Regions from separate parts of the Homo sapiens genome. Here all the other regions are linked to region 2. The links are contacts of gene promoters, found by promoter capture Hi-C in blood cells and fetal thymus (Javierre and others, 2016). All regions are on one chromosome and are shown on one strand. Each heading gives the region's core, a stretch centred on a gene start or on the middle of the fragment in contact. The rest is flanking DNA. Distances are from core to core; before and after follow the strand shown. Region 1 has its middle 88 kb from the start of TOB1-AS1. Region 2 holds the start of ABCC3 (ATP binding cassette subfamily C member 3). Region 3 overlaps SPAG9 (sperm associated antigen 9).

What was found. The method cuts DNA at HindIII sites, captures the fragments that hold promoters and counts their contacts. A CHiCAGO score of 5 or more calls a contact.
Region 1: a fragment that was not itself captured here is called in contact with the fragment with the promoter of ABCC3 in region 2 in 2 of 17 cell types (total B cells and naive CD4 T cells); the score reaches 5.7 in total B cells.
Region 3: a contact is called between a fragment that was not itself captured here and the fragment with the promoter of ABCC3 in region 2, in 1 of 17 cell types (naive CD8 T cells). The highest score is 5.7, in naive CD8 T cells.

What each region holds. Positions count from the first base shown.
Region 1 is chr17:50,952,967-50,956,122 of GRCh38, reverse strand. No RefSeq gene overlaps it. Among named protein-coding and RNA genes, the nearest start is that of TOB1-AS1, 88 kb to the right of the region's middle. RefSeq lists enhancers at 869-1,549, 1,550-2,230, 1,042-2,241. The HindIII fragment of the contact is 9,104 bases long and covers 1-3,156 here.
Region 2 is chr17:50,632,678-50,636,130 of GRCh38, reverse strand. It overlaps ABCC3 (ATP binding cassette subfamily C member 3), which reads right to left and starts at 1,250. Exons shown (of 31, transcript NM_003786.4): 1 at 1,150-1,250. The coding sequence starts at 1,194. RefSeq lists a silencer at 1,231-1,280. The HindIII fragment of the contact is 5,138 bases long and covers 1-3,453 here.
Region 3 is chr17:50,971,757-50,974,778 of GRCh38, reverse strand. It overlaps SPAG9 (sperm associated antigen 9), which reads left to right. Exons shown (of 30, transcript NM_001130528.3): 28 at 1-8. Among named protein-coding and RNA genes, the nearest start is that of TOB1-AS1, 110 kb to the right of the region's middle. The HindIII fragment of the contact is 1,984 bases long and covers 339-2,322 here.

The DNA of each region.
Region 1 (3,156 bases), core at 511-3,010, 320 kb before region 2:
TCTGCGGCTGCTGCTTCTGAACAAGGCTAAAAGAAATGTCACGGAATCAGCTTAGTGAGTTGCTTCAATGGAAACTTCATCCAAGGCCGATAATAAATAGCAGTTACATAACTCAGCAGGTCACAGCACTAACTAAGCCCTTTGTAGGCCATCAATCCACATTTATTTCCTGGATTTTATAACTGCTGCTGAAAGGGAGAAAAGGAGGGGCTGAGGATTAGGGGGAGAGAATCTGTGTGCCTGGACGAAACCTCCAAGCCTATTTTCCAGCCTCCTCTCCCATACGCCACCTCTGCAGCTAACTCTCAGGGGGACGTGCCGAGTTCCAGCACATCCAGACACTGTGGCTCCATGCCGGGAAACCAGACCCCTGTCCCAGCTGCCCTGAGTAGCCAAGAGCTTTAGGCTGGTCATTTTCTCTCTGTCCTGTTTTCTGTAAAATGACAGTTGGGCTAGATGAGTTCTAGGATGCTTTTCTGCCCCATGATTCTAAACATTAGGACAGAAGAGTGGGTACCATGTTTGTTTCCCTCACTCCCATGCCCCAGTGTTAGCTGCAAGATGCTGTTGGATCCTCTTGATGGAGACGGGGGAAGAGCATGATCCCAGCCAACTGACACATGGCACAGCAAGGGGGCAGGAGGGTCAAGGCTGCCCTGGCTGGGATGGGGAGCTGGGAGTGCACAGAGTAAAGGGCCCTTGCCGCCTCGGCCTCACTGTCCGGACACCCACATGAGCCAGAGCCAGCATGGACTACACAGCTTCCATGGGCACAGGGGAGTCGGCATAGGCCTGGAGGAAGGGGCGCCTAATAGTAGTGTTCACCATTCTCAAGCCTGGGGAGTTTGATGCCCAGGTTCAGGGCTGTTCCAGAATGCTTAGGTGGGTATGAATGCCCAAAACTGCAGCCGACAGGTCCCAGATGCAGCTTCTGTCTCTCGCCTCTGCTGGGGTCATGGGAGACAGCTCCCCCAGTCTTCTCCACCCTTGCCCAGCCTCCTGTGCAGAGCCACAGGCAGATCCTACCAGCTGGGAATGTCCAGTATGAAGCAGGTTGAGGAAGGGAAGGGCCTGGGGAAGAAATTCACTGGGGAAGAGGGAGGATGTCAGAAGATTTGTGGCATCAGGAAATGACAGGAAAGCCGGAGGGGAGTTGGAGTGGCTGGAGAGGTGAGAGTCCCTGGGCAGAGCCTCTGGTGAGCAGCCTTCGGGTCTGGGTCCGGGGCCCCTTTCCTTCAGGGCCCGGCCGGGCAACTTGCGGGGATGGGATAATGCCTTAGGGAGTCCAGGAGCCCCAGCCCAGACTGCCCCTCTTGGGGTGTGAAGCCCCTGCAAGGGCTGAGTGGCAGAAAGCAAGGGTGGCCGCAGCCACTGAGCATCCCTGGGAAGGGATGGGGCTGTATAGAAGGGGCACCTGGGGACAGGTGGGCAGTCACAGTGTCTCAGCCCGCTGGGACTCACAGCAGAGCTCATCTGTAGAAGAGAAGGTAGAGGTCAGATGTTACATGGGAGGAAATTTCCAATAAAGACAAAAGTGCTTCCGCGGAGAGGGGACCTGGAGATTGGGACTCTGCTCATACTCGCTTCGCTGCACGCGGTCACTGTGGTGTCCTTGCATCCCTCTTGCCCCTCCCTCAGCGCTCTGCCCTTCCCCAGTTCCTGCTGCTTCCTCTGCAGGAACAGCTGCATGTCTGGGCTTGTCAGGGAGTCAGCTGCGTCTCCAGACACAGACGCAGGAGGCCCAGCACCACCCCCAGCCTGATGCCGTCACTGAGGTTTGGAAGGTGGTGGTCTCCTCCCTGTTAAACTGAGACCCAGAGAGGGGGAGTGTGTTTTAATTCCCCAGACCCAACAAGTGAGTAGTGCCAGAAAGGGCCCTCGGGGTCCCATCTCTCCAGGCGGCCTCAGGTCAGTTCCCTCCCGCTGTGGTAGCCTCATCAGCTAATTCTGCCTCTGTTGGATCAGCCAGCAAGGCAATGCTCAAGGGGGCTGGGTGGCGACTCCAATTTGGGTGCACCAGCCAGTCCCAGGGGTGAAGGCAGTGACTTATTTGGGAATTATTTTTGTAGAGGAGACACTTGACTCCACGGCTGTTGAGGCTGAAGCTACCCAAGTGACCCCTGAGCTGAGTGGCAGGGAGGGCTGGCGGCTCCTGGACTCAGCTTCACACCACCTCCCAAGGTGTTCTCAGCCATGCCCCTACCTCTGCACAGGGCCACTCCTAAACAAATCCTCCTGCCTCCCTGGAGCTTGAAGGAGGTGCTTTGCCTCCCATCCTCTCCGCAGTCTCCTCTCCCCTCGGGGATTGGTCACGTGGAACCCTGTTGGAGCCTGAGGGGTGAGATGGTGAGTGCCCAGAGGGCAACGGTGGCTGGCTCCTTCCAGAGCCCACTTTTTCTTTCTTTCTTTCTTTCTTTCTTTTTTTTTTTTTGTTTCTTGGGACAGGGTCTCCCCTCTGTCGCCCAGGCTGGAGTGCAGTGACACAATCATAGTTCACTGCAGCCTCAACCTCCCAGGCTGGAGCTATCCACCTACATCAGCCCTCCGGGCAGCTGGGACTACAGGCACACACCACCACACCCAGCTAATTTTTTTTTTATTTTTTGCAGAATCAGTGTTTCGCCATGTTGCCCAGGCTGGTCTCGAACTCCTGAGCTCAAGTGATCCTCCTATCTCAGATTCCCAAAGTGCTGGGATTACAGGTGTGAGCCACCATGCCTGGGTTTTCCTTGTTGATAAATGAGCATGGGATTGTTCTAGAGAAACTGTGCCATGAGCTGGGTGGGACAGGAGCATCAAGATCATTTCAGAAAGTTCTCTCGTGAAAGCCAAAATATGTGCCTACTCCACCTCTGCCCGCTAGCTACCATGTCCCAGGCCAAAAAGTCCTTAGGAGAGGAGAATCCCATGCAACTGTGGAGTGTGTGCTGGGCCCAGTCCTGGGTTCCTCATCCATTGCCTGCCTTAATCCCCAAGGCGGCTGTGGGGCACAGATTTCCCCATTTGACAGGACACCTCAACCAGCGGTTCTCAACCTCACTAGTACTGACATGTGAGGCTGGGTGCTTCTTTGCTGTGTGGCCTGCCCTGTGCATTATAGGATACATAGCAGCATCCTTGGCCTCTGCCCACTAAATGCCGGTAGCATACCCAATT
Region 2 (3,453 bases), core at 1-2,500:
ATGACCACAGAGAAGCACCTTTAATCTGAGCTCCCTCTGTAAAACGGAGACCACATGATCACTTGCCTCATAGAGGCAAGTAAGTTTTGCAAGTTGGTAAGAAAGCTCCTAGGCTGTATGCACTTAGCTCACCTGAACTGTGCTGGAGGCTGGAGTCAGCAGGCTGAAGAGCAGCCTGTCTTAGAAAGAGATTTGGAGTGAGAGTCACCAAAGGCTTGATTTTCTTTTCTTATTTATTTATTTTTTTAGAGACAGGGTCTCACTCTTTCGCCCAGGCCACAGTGCAGTGGTGCGATCATAGCTCACAGTAATCTAAAACTCCTGGGCTGAAGTGATCCTCCCACCTCTGCCTCCCAAAGGGTGGGATTACAGGCGTGAACCACTGCACCTGGCCTGTAGCCTGTTTTTCTATCCCAGCTCTGCCTTCATTGAACTGGGTAACTTTGGGCAAGTCCCTTCCTCTCTCTGGGCCTCCCTTTCTCCATCTGTGAGAAGGGAGTTGGACTACAGGAATCCTGACACCCTGCACCTGTCTCCAGACTGGGGTCTGCTTCTCCCTTCTGAGTCCGGAGTGGTGGGGATGGCCTGCTCTCAGACCTCAGTCTTACCTAGAGAAAAGAAGGTGGCAGGAAACCTTCCTAAGAAGGGTGGGACACTGCACAGCCGGCCTCCCAAAACACCTGGTTGAGCAGGTGCTCTGGATGCCCTGGGGGCAATCCATGCCCAGGTGGGCAACCGAGTCCTAACCTGAGGCAGATGCTGAGGGAAGACCCTCCATCAGGAACCCGCGGCTGATTGCGAAACGCCCCTTCCGCACCCGACGGAGGGGCTGGGATGGAGCCGACTCACCCAGCCACGCACTGTGCCTTTGCGCCCCAGCCGCGCACTCTTCCTCACTTTCCCGGGCTCCCCAGTGCTGCAGCCGGGAAGGGCAGAGCAGGGCAGGTCCCCGACACCGCGTGGGACCCGGCTCCGGGCGGCGCAGCCAACCTCCCTCCCGAGCCCATCGCCCCCTCCCGGGCGCCCAGGCCGTCTCAGGGGCTCCGTCCCGGGATACCTGCCGGCCCCGCGGGAAGGCAGGCGGCGGGGACCGGGCGAAGCCGGCCGACCCTGGCCCCCGCGCAGTGACCCCGGAGCCCCGCGCCTTACCCAGAACTTGGAGCCGAGCTCCCCGGAACCGCACAGGGCGTCCATGGGGCCGAGGCGCGGCTGCAAGGAAGGCGAGCGCGGTCGGACCCAGCGGCGGGCAGAGCGGGCGCCGGAGCCGCCTCCGCCCTCCGCACCCCGCGCTCCGCCCGGACCCGCCCTGCCGAGCCCTACCCCAGTGCCTCTGGGTCCGGTCTCCCTGCCCCCGTCCCGCGGGTTGCGACAGCGCCTCCCTGGGAGGGACTTTGGGGCAGAGGTGGGGGGGCCCTTGGCACGGCGACAGCCCCTGCGAGCGGCCCCTGGGCCAAGCCAGGGGGATGTCTCTCTAAATACCGAGGCTAACAGTCCAGGAGTCGAGTCTATTTCCAAGGGGGAACTGGGATACACAGGCGCTCCCACTCCCGAACAAGTCCGTGGGGCCGATGAGTCATTGAGTAGGGGACGTAGGGAGAGGGATTTAACAATCTTTCCTAGTAAAAAAGGAATCTTTGAGAAGGTCACGTTCCTCTCCGGAGGTCAGTTTCCTCATCTGTAAAATGGGAAGGGCTTCTGTGCTCAATCAGGAAGCTGACCTCTTCCCCATCAGGTTCCAGAGACCACTGGCAGGCGCCACACGGGGAGCACACGGGGTGTGCTCCGCGGGTGTGTACCCGTGAGGCGGGGGTGGGGGCCGCAGCATCGTCCAGCGGGGGCCTCTTATGTCCTCTTAAACTGCTGCCCTCTTAGGCTCTGTGGCTCCCTGACCTTGCCACATCACCTCGGCACGTCTCTGGGCCTCTACTTTCACATCCGTAAAATAGAGACAATCATAGAAGAGAATCTTCCTCCCAGGGTTCTCTGAGGATTGAATGGAAAGGGTAGGCAAAGCGTATTTCCTGGCACACTTAGTGGGCACCCAACATGTGTGAATTCCCTCTGCTTCAGCCTGATCAGGGTTGGGGGGGGAAGGACAGGTGAAGCCCCAGGAGGAGCCCCACGTGAGTGTCCTCGTCCTCGTCCTCCTCCTAAGGCTGAAACTCTACATTCCTGATCTGTAAAATGGGCTTGTCAGTGCTCTCCTTCTCCTGCTTGCCTCAGCTCTCCTTCTCCCGGTATCCCCTCAGATGCGGGGATCCCTCCATCTCTCAATCCCGCTGTTGCCCTGTCTTCCTTAACACAATCCCAGACGCCAACTCAGCACCGCTTGTTGGGGCTCAGAAGGAATTCTCCCTGGCAAATCTTTCCCTGGCCCTTCTCTTCCCTGCCTTTGCCCACAGGTCTGTCCAGTTTCACCCCGGTGACCCCTTTTCTGGCCCTTGTTCTCAAGAGAAGGTGTTTCCTTCCTTGGCTGCTCAGCGGCAGGTGTGGGTGGGAGCCAGTAAGAGTGCAGAAGGGGCAAGCCACCTCCTATCTCTCTGGGCAGCCAGGAGGTCACTAGAAGGGAAGTCTCCTTGGCTATAGGCTATCAGAACCAAGATCTGGCTGGGCATGGGATAGGGGTGGGAGTGGAGAAGATTCCCCTTTCCCAGGCAGTCAGACCAGGGACTTCTACCCCTCCACTGGGCAAGTTCTTTCAGCCCCTTCTTTGTCTGCCCTCTTCCTTTCCACTCATCCACACATACCCTCCCTCTCCTGTCCCCCTACCTTCATCTCTGGGCAAAATACTTTACAGAGCTTTACACCTTGTTACGGCGTGCCTTGGATTATATTTAGTTATGAAGAGTCTGTCTTCCCTGCTAATCTGAGAGGTCCCCAAGGGCAGGGACTAACTCAGTCCCCTCCAATCCCCCTCCATACCTTTTATACACTGTGTGATCTCAATAAGCTCCTTGATGCCTCTGGGACTTCATTTCTTGAGAAACGTGGACAGGGTGATATCTAAGCTCTCTTCCAGCCCTGGTGGGCCAGGCTTCTATGGCCTAGGCAGCTGGGAACCTTCCTCCACCCCTTCCATGACCCTGGTCATGGCTTCATCAGCACCCACTGCCCCTGTGTTTTGACCTTGTCTACCCACCGGCTTCCTCCAACTCTCCCTCCTCTCCCATTCCTTTTCTAGGGCTTGTGGGGTCATAGGCACCAGATTGCTCTGGGCTTGAGGAGACCTGGGGACTTTCCTTTAGGGCCCTTTGGGAGGTGAGCTCCCCAATCAGACCTCCTTTCTGAGATGGAGAGCCCAGAACTAGCCTGAGCTTCCGTCCGGGACTTTCCAGCCCCACAGTTGGCCAGGCAGTGCACTGGCTGGAGCTCTAGTTTTGGGCTAGGACCCTTGGGTTCTGGCTTCAGCATCGGAGCTGAAGCACCATCCCTTGCAGCCCCAGGCTTTTCTAT
Region 3 (3,022 bases), core at 81-2,580, 340 kb before region 2:
AGTCCCAGGTATGTTAGATTATTCTGTTGAGATGTTCCATGTAATTGTCTCTCTTCTGTCATCTCTTGGTTCCACTACCTAATAGTCTAAGGCTAAGTACTCGAATTGCAGGTAATTTCAATATATACGAAGGAAGTTCTGTAATGGAGGTGTGACTAAGGTGCTATAGGGATACTTGAATGAAGTTACTTTGGAATATCTCTCCCACCCCCAAAGATAAATTTGTTGATTTTTCTTTAGGAGACTTGCTTACTTTTGAAAAGCAGTAGTATTATTTTATCATCGTGGATTGCCAAAAATGGTCTTGACCTAATAAGAGAAATCACTAGAAAGAAGCTTCTATCATCAAGGCTGCATGGAGGAAGAGAGAATGCACTCTGGTACCTTTAGCAGCTTAATAGGAAAAAGCAGTGAACTAGGAGGCCTGGGGGTCTGGCCCCTGTGTCTCTGCCACTAACCTCGAGCAAGGCACTTAACCTCAGAGACTCATTTCCTCACTCCTAGGTGGATGTGATTAATATCTGCTCTGCCTACTTCATTTGTTATGAAAATTAATGAAAATGCTACTGGGAGCTATAAAGCACCACCCAGAAAAAAGATGGAAGTGATGATGTCCAGTGAAAAATGACAAATTATCCATTGACAATACTTAAGTGATGTCACTGACCATCTGTAAGCAGGACACAGGTTTTGAATTTTTTTTTCCCATAAGAGGCAAGTTTAGGAGCTAGACGAAGTTCAGATCTGACTTTCCCCCACCAACTAACTGTGTGATGTAGTATATTAGTCAGGGTTCTTCAGAGAAACAGAACCAATAGGATGCATGTGTATGTGCGTATGAAGAGAGAGTTACTGTTAAGAAATTGGGTCACACAGTTGTGGGGACTAGCAGGTCTGAAATCTGCAGGGCAGGCTGGCAGGCTGGAGACCCCGGGAAGAGTGGATGTTGCAGTCCAAATCTGAAAGCAGTCTGGAGGCAACATTTCTCTTTCCTCTGGATCCCTCAGTCTTTTTCTTCTAAGGCTTTCAACTGGTTAAATGAGGCCCACCCACACTGTGGCGTGTAATCTGCTTTACTCAAAGTCTGTTGTTTTAAATGTTAATCACATCTAAAAAAGACTTACAATGATATCTAGACTGGTGTTTGACCAAATATCTGGGTATCGAGCTAACACGTCAAATTACTCATCATACTTATTTTCCCAAGGGTCTTCCAAAGATTAAATGATTTTATGTACATGGGGCAAGGGCTGGCATATGGTACCCTAAGCAATTATTCAGTTATTCTTAACAACAGTGATAATGAGCTTTCTGAAACCTCATTTGTACATTTTATATATTTGTATAGTCATTTCCTTCCTAGAAATGGGATTGCTGGTAACAGTGTTTCTCTTGCTTAAAAAAAAATGAAATATCACAGTTTCCTTTAAATCTCCTTTGTATCCCTCTCCAATCCCATTCTCCTCTCCTTTTCCTCTCCATTGGTAACCACTATCTTGAAGTCGATGCAAATCCTCTTGCCCCTGTTTTTGTATTTTTACTATGTTTGAATGTGTTTATAAACAATGTATGATTGTTTTGTGGTTTTGGACTTTACATGTTAAATGTTGTGTTTTATATGTATGCTTCTACAACTTGCTTCTCATTTTTTGAGATTTATCAATGTTCATACATAAAAATCTAGTTTATTCATTTAACTGGTATTATAACTGAATAAAAGTGCTACATTTTATTCATTCTTCTGTTGATGGACCTCTAGGCTTCTCCCCTTTCTTTTTTCACTATTAAAAACAATACTGAAGCAGACCTTCTTGTGTGCATGTGTAAGGATTTTTTGTTGGGTATAAATCTAAAAGTGGAATTAGCAACATGGTTGTTGCGAGGCCAGTTGGCCCTAAAGATTAAACCATTCTGGTTGGCCTTATCAGTAATACCACTGTGCTCTTGCTTCTGTGGCAGAACTAACTCGTCTACCAACAGAAGTCATTGCTGGCATGCTTGATTTCTTCCAAAGTATAATTGAGTAATGCATGAATGAATCCCTGTGGGGATACGTCAGACTATCCTATCCACTTTCAACATACATTAATTTTGTTACAGTGTGTCGCATTAATGGCTGTCCAGCTAGCTCCTGGAGGCGCAGTCTGTGTAGTTTGACCAAAGGACAGCAGATTCTGACAAGGAAAAAAATATCCCACAATTAAATCTTGCTAAGAGGGTTGGCTTAGAGATTGCTCATTTGTTCATAGTTGTGAATAATATTTAAAGGTTTCTCTCTTTCTATTATTTCACACTCAAGGATTCTACCTTAGAACTTAAGCTTTAGAACAAACAGCACATTTACTAGTAATTTTGTTTGCATAATCTAAATTAAAAATAACCTGTATTTTCCTTAAATATGAGAGGAAAGCCATAGATTTGAAATAAATTTAAATGTTAATTATGACTATGCAAACTCATAGGGCTTAAGTTGAAGACTTTTCTCAGTCTCTTACACAAATAAGCACATTCCTTTTCAAGGGAGAGACCTTTTCCACTGTCTTCTCAGATCAAAAGATTTAGACTATAATAGTTTGAAGCAGGTAGGCTGTGCATGGTGGCTCACACCTGTAATTCCACAACTTGGAAATCAAGGCAGGAGGATCACTTGAGCCCAGGAGTTTGAGACCAGCCTGGGCAAACATAGCAAGACTTCATTAAAAATTTTTAAGAGACCAGGCACAGTGTCTCATGCCTGTAATCCCAGCACTTTGGGAGGCCTAGGTGGGTGGATCACTTGAGGTCAGGAGTTTGAGACCAGCCTGACCAACTTGGTGAAACCCCATCTCTACTAAAATACAAAAATTAGCCGGGCGTTGTGGCAGGCACCTGTAATCGCAACTACTTGGGAGGCTGAGGCAAGAGAATTGTTTGAACCCCAGAGGCGAAGGTTGCAGTGAGCCGAGATCGCGCCATTGCACTCTAACCTGGGCCACAAGAGCGAAACTCTGTCTCAAAAATAAATAAATAAAGTAATTTGGGC